Linked DNA regions of Homo sapiens: region 1 is linked to region 2. The links are contacts of gene promoters, found by promoter capture Hi-C in blood cells and fetal thymus (Javierre and others, 2016). All regions are on one chromosome and are shown on one strand. The core of a region is centred on a gene start or on the middle of the fragment in contact, and the rest is flanking DNA. Distances in the headings are between cores, read along the strand shown. Region 1 has its middle 76 kb from the start of NTS. Region 2 holds the start of C12orf50 (chromosome 12 open reading frame 50).

Region 1 (4,230 bases), core at 1,638-4,137, 2.1 Mb after region 2:
TGTAGCTCCACTGTTTTATGCCTAAGGAGTTAATCCTCCTTTCAGTCTTAAAATATGGTTTATAGGATCCTGGACTTAAAATAACAACATATGTTATTTTCTTATCTCTTGTAGTAAATTTATGTATCTGATCTTATACAGGCTTTCTGATAGCAACACCTACTTTTACCTCCAGATGGCAATATAATGCAAATAATAAGCCAGGCAAACATGAAGGTACTAATTTCACTCAATGAATTATTATCTTTCTAGCTTTCTTTTCCCACAAATATATATTTTAAATGTTTGTGTTTGATTTACACGTTTTATTCATATTTATTATCCTCCCATCAAGCCTTTGGGGTTTTTCTGTTAGGTTATATAAAAAACTAGAAAAACTCTTCTAGCTAGAAGTAATTCTCTTCTAGCTCGTTTGTCACAACAGGAATCAACTATTTGTAATTTTTAATTTCAATAATGGATATTATAATCCTAAGAGTAGGAGAAATGTGTCTGTTTTAGAATTATCGTAAAATTTATTTACTGCACCATTTTCTAGAATAAGAATATTTATTTTTCATTAACTTACCAAGTACAGTCTATTTTTCAACATAATTAAAAGACAATAGTTTATCCTTTTCTTAAAATCTACTAAATATAATCTCATTCTTGCTAATTACAAAGGCATGTGTTATGATACAAGTGTTCTGGAATAGGTGGGTTTGTACCTCAGAATGGACAATGACTCTCCTTGTAGGAAATTGAAAAGACAGGTCTCCAGAGTTACTGGAGCTCCTCATTCCATAACCATCACCACCTCCACCCCTGCCCCATACAATAAGGTTTGTGTGACCTTCTTGGTTCTCCTACACATTCCTCAAATCTATCTATGTTTATTTACTTTTCTGTTCAAACATTTCTAAGAGTTAATTTTAACCTTATTTCAATGGTTTAAGAATGTTTAAGACATTGGAGAGGACTCCTATTCAACATAGTACTGGAAGTCCTAGCCAGAACAATCAGGCAAGAGAAAGAAATAAAAGGTATCCAAATAGGAAGAGAAGTTAAACTATCTCTTTGCTGATGTTGTGATTCTATACCTAGAAAACCCTAAAGACTCCATCAAAAGGCTCCTAGAAACTGACAAACAATTTCAATAAATTTTCAGAATACAAAATAAACATTAAAAAAACAGTTGCATTTCTATACACCAATCACATTCAAACTGAGAGCGAAATCAATAACACAATCCCAATCCCATTTACAATAGTCACCACCAGAAAACAAACAAACAACAAAAACCTTAGGAATACATCTCACCAAGGAGATGAAAGAACGCTACAAGGAGAACTACAAAACACTAGTGAAAGAAATCATCGATGAAACAAACAAATGGGAAAACATTCCAAGCTCAGGTATTGAAGGAGTCAATATTGTTAAAATGTCCATATTGACCAAAGCAATCTGCAGATTCATGCTATTCCTTCAAACTATCAATGTCAGTTTTTAGAAACTGGAAAACACTATTCTAAATTCATATGGAAAGAAAAAGGAGCCCAAATAGCCAAAGCAATCTAAGCAAAAAGAATAAATCCGGAAGCATCCCATTACCTTATATCAAACTATACTATGAGTCTACAGTAACCATAACGGCATAGCAGTGGTACAAAAATAGGCACATAGACCAAAGGAACAGAAGAAAGAATCCAGAAATAAAGCCACACTCCTGCAACCATCTGATATTCAAAAAAGTTGACAAAAATAAGCAATGGGGAAAGTGCTCCCTATTCAATAAATGGCATCAGAATTACTTGGCTATCGACATGCATAAGAATGAAATTGGACTTCTACCTATCATCATATACAAAAATTAACTCAAAAATTTACTCAATTTAAAAGTAAGACCTCAACCTATAAAAATCCTAGAAGAAAACCTAGAAAATACCCATCTGTGTATAACATTACCTGATTTACATTATTCAGGTAATTAATATAAAGAACAAAAGACGAGCTACTATATTCAGTACTTACTTCTTCATTATGTTTTTAGGTTGATAGACACATACTGAAGTAGCTATTTGCTTCACTAAATACTTAAAACAATGTTAAATTAAACTCTGCATTAAGAGGTTTGGAAATAGCCTTCTTTATGCTGGAATTAATCTGTATATACCTTGTGGAAGTGAGGTATAAATGGAAATACTCTAGCTACTACTCTTGGTCACTCAAATGCAACTATTTATATACAGTTATCAATTTTAAAAATATTAGAAAATGCTTCCATTTAGAATTGTAGAAATCTATTAAATAATGTTGCACTCAATTGAAAAATGAGAAGAATCTGGATAATGTACACAAATCATAACTTTTTGTGAATCCATCAGAGAGAAGAGAACAGAAAGCAACCAGGAAAATGGAGCTCCAAAAGGAAATATAGACACATTAACCTTCTGTAGGACATGGGAGAAAGAGATGACCACTACATGCCCATGAAAGAAAAAAATCAGCTAAAAATTAAACAAATTATTAAAGGCCAAGTTTGCATGAAAATGTCGATTCTCAATAGCTGAGATTCCCAGACATAAGGGGAGTTTGCAACTAGGTGCTCACTAGAAAGTTGAAGGTAATACAAAAGAACAGGAAAAGCTTCTTTTAGTGTTGCAAATGTGCAAATAGCATTTGTCTGCTGTGGGGATTCAGGAAAAGGAAACCTGCCCACTTCAATGGATACTTCCTTCTTATGCAAAAATCCTAAGCCCTGGAGGAAGGCAACTAATTCTTTTGCCACCAGATAATATGCAAAGAGCCACTGCTTCTATGGAAGAGCAGAAACAAAATTGCCTCTCCGGTAGGGAAAAGCCTCTGGCTCTCCAGACATTGCAAAAAACCCAGTGAAACTGAAGAGCTGAAGATAAATACATATTTTCATTGGCTGAAAGGCCAAGAAACTCTCTTGGGTAAAGAATCATACAACAATAACAAACTGTGATCTACTACCACTGAGGCAGGAATAGGAGACTCCCCTGCCCAAAATCAACCAGAAATAATACAAGGTACTGTTTGGCTTCCCCGGAGAGGAAGGGCAGCAGTGCTGGAGCTAGATCTTGGCAAAAACGAACAAACAACAACAACAACAACAAAATACTCTCTCTGCTACTGCAATAAGCTTAGCAGCCCCTAACAAGCAACAGCAGTTTAATGCTGGGAGAAGGGCAAGGGCATAAAGTATGTAAAGAAATAAAGAAGTTCAGCTGGGCGCAGTGGCTCACGCCTGTAATCCCAGCACTTTGGGGGGCCAAGACAGGCATATTATTTGAGGTCAGGAGTTCAAGACCAGCCCGGCCATCATGGTGAAACCCTGTCTCCACTAAAAATACAAAAATTAGCCAGGAGGTACTGGAGTGTGCCTGTAATCCCAGTTTCTCCAGAGGCTGAGGCAGGAGAATCACTTGATCCTGGGTGGCGGAGGTTGCAGTGAGCCGAGATCGAGCCACTGCACTCCAGTCTGGGTGACAGAGTGAGACCCTGTCTCCAAAGAAAAAAAAAAAAGTTTAGAAGTTCTGAGATTTTACTATCAAGCAAGCTAGTTAAGCATGCTACAGTTTTATGGATGCTAACAGAAGATATGAGACTCCTGGGTTAGAGCCAAAGAACTTTATTACTCCCAGAACAACAAACAGTATTTGTTTCATTTTAATGGTTGCCCTTGCCCTTGCTCTCCCTCCGCTCCAAGTCTCATGAAGAATACATGGAGCAACCTGGTCAATCCTACACATGCAGTGGGTTTGTCTCACAGATGAGGAATGTTGAGCTTAGGAAACTTCAATCTTTAAAAATGGGCTGCATAAAAGGGAAACTTTATTATACTAAACAGTAAGCAAATCTGTCCTTGGAGGACATCCAGTCCTCCAAGGCTGTTGGCTATACAAATATCCAAGAAAACGCAGTTGGAAAAAAAAGTCTGCCAGTGCCTCTACTCACAAGATATGCAGAAGTGCCAGAGACCGATGTAGTGCAGTGGCTGATATAGGCATGAAGATACTATTGATAACTGAAGTAAAGTAGGGACACTGAGAAAACACTCGCAGCACTACAAGCCCTACACTAAATTCAAAGTAATACAGTTCACTGCTGGAGAAACTTGAAGTCAGTGGTATACTGAGGATAACAATAACAACAATTAAATCATAACCAAGTTTTATTACTAATTAATTCAATTAATATACCAATGATCTGACAGAAAAACAGATG
Region 2 (4,320 bases), core at 1,782-4,281:
TATCTAGAGTAATGTGTGATTTTCATGGCACCTTTTATGTTATTTATTGATATGACTTGGCTGTGTCCCCACCCAAATCTCAACTTGAATCATATCCACCAGAATTCCTATGTGTTGTGGGAGGGACCCAGGGGAAGTAATTGAATCATGGGGGTGGGTCTTTCCCATGCTAATCTCATGGTAGTGAATAAGTCTCACAAGATCTGATAGTTTTCTCAGGGGTTTCCACTTCTGCTTCCTCCTCATTTTATCTTGCTGCCACCATGTAAGAAGTGCCTTTTACCTCCCACCATGATTCTGAGGCCTCTCTAGCCATGTGGAACTGTAAGTCCAATTAAACCTCTTTTTCTTCCCAGTCTTTATCAGCAGTGTGAAAGCAGACTAATACAGTAAATTGGTACTAGTAGAGTGGGGTGTTGCTGAAAAGATACCCAAAAATGTGGAAGTGACTTCAGAACTGGGTAACAGGCAGAGGTTGGAACAGTTTGGAGGGCTCAGAAGAGACAGGAAAATGTGAGAAAGTTTGAACCTCCTAGAGACTTGTTGAATGGCTTTGACAAAAATGCTGATAGTGATATGAACAATAAGGTCCAGGCTGAGGTGGTCTCAGACAGAGATGAGGAACTTGTTGGGAACTGGAGCAAAGGTGATTCTCGTTATATTTTAGCAAAGAGACTGGCAGCATTTTGCCCCTGCCCTAGAGATTTGTGGAACTTTGAACAAAGTACCTGAGAGATGATTTCAGGTATCTGGTATTGCTGAATCTGGAAGATTGAATGCTTAGCAAAGCATTCAAAAGGTGACTTGGGTGCTGTTAAAAGCATTCCATTTTAAAAGGGAAACAGAGCATGAAAGTTTAGAAATTTGCAGCCTGATGATGCAGTAGAAAAGAAAAACCCATTTTTTGAGGAGAAATTCAAGCCAGCTGCAGAAATTTGTATAAGTAGCAAGGAGCCTAATGTTGATCCCCAAGACCATGGGGAAAATGTCTCCAGGGTATGTCAGAGACCTTCACGGCAGCCCCTCCCATCACAGGCCCAGAGGCCCAGGAGGAAAAAGTGGTTTTATGGGCTAGGCCCAGGGTCCCCGTGCCATCTGTAGCCTAGGGACTTGGTGCCCTGTGTCTCAGCCAATCTAGCCATGACTGAAAGGGGCCAACATAGAGCTCGAGCTGTGGCTTCAGAGGGTGCAGGCCCCAAGCCTTGGCAGCTTCCACATTGCTGTTGAGCCTGCAGGAGCACAGAAGGCAAGAATTGAGGTTTGGAAACCTCCACTTAGATTTCAGAAGATGTATGGAAACACCTGGATGCTTAGGTAAAAGTTTGCTGCAGAAGTAAGGACCTCATGGAGAACCCCTGCTAGGGCAGTGTGGAAGGGAAATGTGGGCTGGAGCCCCCACACAGAGTCCCTCCTGGGGCACTGCCTAGTGGAGCTTTTAGAAGAGAGCCACCATCCTCCAAACCCCAGAATGGTAGCTCCACTGACAGCTTGTGCCATGCACCTGGAAAAGCCACAGACACTTAATGCCAGCCTGTGAAAGCAGCCAGGAGGGAGGCTGTACCCTGCAAAGCCACAGGGTCAGAGTGCCCAAGACCATGGGAACCCACCTTTTGCATCCACATGACCTGGATGTGAGACCTGGAGTCAAAGGACATCATTTTGGAGCTTTAAAATTTGACTGCCCTGCTGGAATTAGGACATGCAGGGGTCCTGTAACTCCTTTGTTTTGGCCAACTTATCCCACTTGCAGTGGCTTTGCCCAATACCAGTATCCCCATTGTATCTAGGAAGTAACTAGCTTGTTTTTGATTTTACAGACTCATAGGTGGAAGGGATTTGCCTTGTCTCAGATGAGACACTGGACTGTGGACTTTTGGATTAATACTGAAATGAGTTAAGACTTTGGGGGACTATTGGAAAGGCATGATTGGTTTTGAAATGTGAGGACATGAAGTTTGGAGGGACAAGTGGTGGAATGATATGGTTTGGCTCTGTCTCCACCCAAATATCAACTTGAATTGTATCTCCCAGAATTCCCACATGTTGTGGGAGGGATTCAGGGGGAGGTAATTGAATCATGGGTACGGGTTTTTCCCATGCTAATCTCATGATAGTGAATAAGTCTCATAAGATCTGATCAGTTTATCAGGGGATTCTACCTTTACTTTCTCCTCATTTTCTCTTGCCACCGCAGTGTAAGAAGTGCCTTTCACCTCCTGCCATGATTCTGAGGCCTCCCCAGCCATGTGGAACTGTAAGTCCAATTAAACCTCTTTTTCTTCCCAGTTGGGTATGCTTTTATCAGCAGCATGAAAACGGACTAATACATTTATGAGGAATATTTTTTATTAATTTCTGCTGGGTTTTAATTATTTGATTAAAGATACTAAGAGGAAGATATAAATAACTGCTGATTGAAATGTTTCATTCTGGAAATCAGAGTATTTCCCTTGTTTTCAACAAATTCTCAAAGCCTTCAAGCACTCTGGAAACTTTCTGCTATAGGAAGAAGATATTCCTCTTTTTATGATGGATGAAAAATAAATGGAATATAGCCACAAGATGAATAAGTAGCCCAATATATTTTCAGGTACCTATTAATATATCACAATTTGAATATGATTTTTCCCAAATCAATGGATAGTAGAGAGTACATATTTAAATAATTGTTTTTATTATCTTAGAATATGAGTAGCTCATTTACCTATGGCAAATTTTTAGTGTTATTCCCAAAACCTCTATAGAAACGAAGATTTAGAAATAGCTGTTTACTTGTGAAATACTTATCACTTTCTATTATAAAAGTATAAACTAGTTTATAGTCCATATTCAACGAGAACATTGAAAGATTAAAGTATGCTATTTTATTTTTGCTAGTCCTTTGTAGTTAATATGCTAAAACTGAGTAAGGGAAATACAGTGTTCACTCAGGTAAACTGTAGTTTACCTGAGTGAACATTGGCCTGCAGTTACATGTGAGGTCATTTATGATGAGCAAACAATGGATTAGGTAACAATGAGGAAAATTCTAGAAGTTTGAGTTTGTGTGCTTACTAGCAACCACTTTCAGCGTTTCTGCAAAGCTAGAGAAGGTATCTTCTAATTTAAATGTCTTTAAGAATTATCTATTGCGTAATATACTGTCAACAGGAGGTCAGTTTTAAAGGAATACTACTGATAGCCTGAAAGACTGTGGAAAAGAAATTATTTTTCCCCCTTACACACTGATAGTTCTTGTATTTGCATTCCTGAAATTCATATATATTTTTCAAAAAAAAAAAACCATTGGATTAGCAGCAAGAGAGTTGAAAATGGCAGAAGTTGGGAATGACTGCTATTTCTTTTTTAATTCCACATGCATAAAGGTAAATATTGTACAATTGACAGTACTTCACATGCTTAATCTTTTTAGTAGAATGAAGGGAGATATGGCAATAACTTGTATTGCTGAACAAAAATTTACTATTTTCTTGCAAGATATCTTATATTTGTAAAATCTGGAGTAACAGCTTATCATGTATTTTTGACATACTGAATTTCTCTGAAGAAATCTGAGATAATTTAAAATTATTATTTGTTTGAAACTACCCTTATATATACCAGTTATATGTCTATAGCTTTTGAATCTTCATGTGGCACTTTTGCCTATATTATGACACCTTGAGACATTAAATTCCTAATATTAAAACATCATAGGTTACAAGATATTGTTTTAGTTAATATGATTCCAGTCATTATAATTCAAATAGTTGAATTCAGGTAAGTGTCAATCTTAGTGTAATAAATCTGTTTTCCTATTTGAAATTTATTAACCCAATTACTGAATTTTCCTCTGTCAAAAGTCTAAGTAATAACAAATATTTAAATATCATTAAAAAAGAAAATTAATATAAACAAATTGGCCACATATAAATTAAACTTTATAAAGTTAAATGGGAAAAACTGAGAATTCCTCCAATGTATTAGGATGTATAGATCTTAGTAAAACCAGATAAAGGTAGAAACTCAATATTTGGAGCTTTGTGCTCATGCAAGAAATAATCCAGTGAAAAAGATGATATGTCTGGTTTCAAGTGTTTCCTCTCTGTTAGGAAACCTGAATGGAGTCAACCTCTCTGACCACAGAAATTGGATTCACTTCTATTACCTGTTAGATTAAATGCTAGGATAATAAAGAATAATAACAGATTTCATGTCCCAGGTGGGCAGAGTGTTTTGTCTATTTCACTGCTGTATCCCCAAGTACTTAGCAGAGTGGCTAATGAGTAAGTTACCAGTAAATAATTAAATGAATAAATAATAATAATAGCTCACAATACC

The links. The method cuts DNA at HindIII sites, captures the fragments that hold promoters and counts their contacts. A CHiCAGO score of 5 or more calls a contact.
Region 1: a fragment that was not itself captured here is called in contact with the fragment with the promoter of C12orf50 in region 2 in 3 of 17 cell types (M0 macrophages, endothelial precursors and M2 macrophages); the score reaches 8.7 in M0 macrophages.

The regions. Positions count from the first base shown.
Region 1 is chr12:85,947,977-85,952,206 of GRCh38, reverse strand. No RefSeq gene overlaps it. Among named protein-coding and RNA genes, the nearest start is that of NTS, 76 kb to the right of the region's middle. The HindIII fragment of the contact is 520 bases long and covers 2,628-3,147 here.
Region 2 is chr12:88,028,112-88,032,431 of GRCh38, reverse strand. C12orf50 (chromosome 12 open reading frame 50) reads left to right here and starts at 3,031. Exons shown (of 13, transcript NM_152589.3): 1 at 3,031-3,092. The HindIII fragment of the contact is 7,634 bases long and covers 1-4,320 here.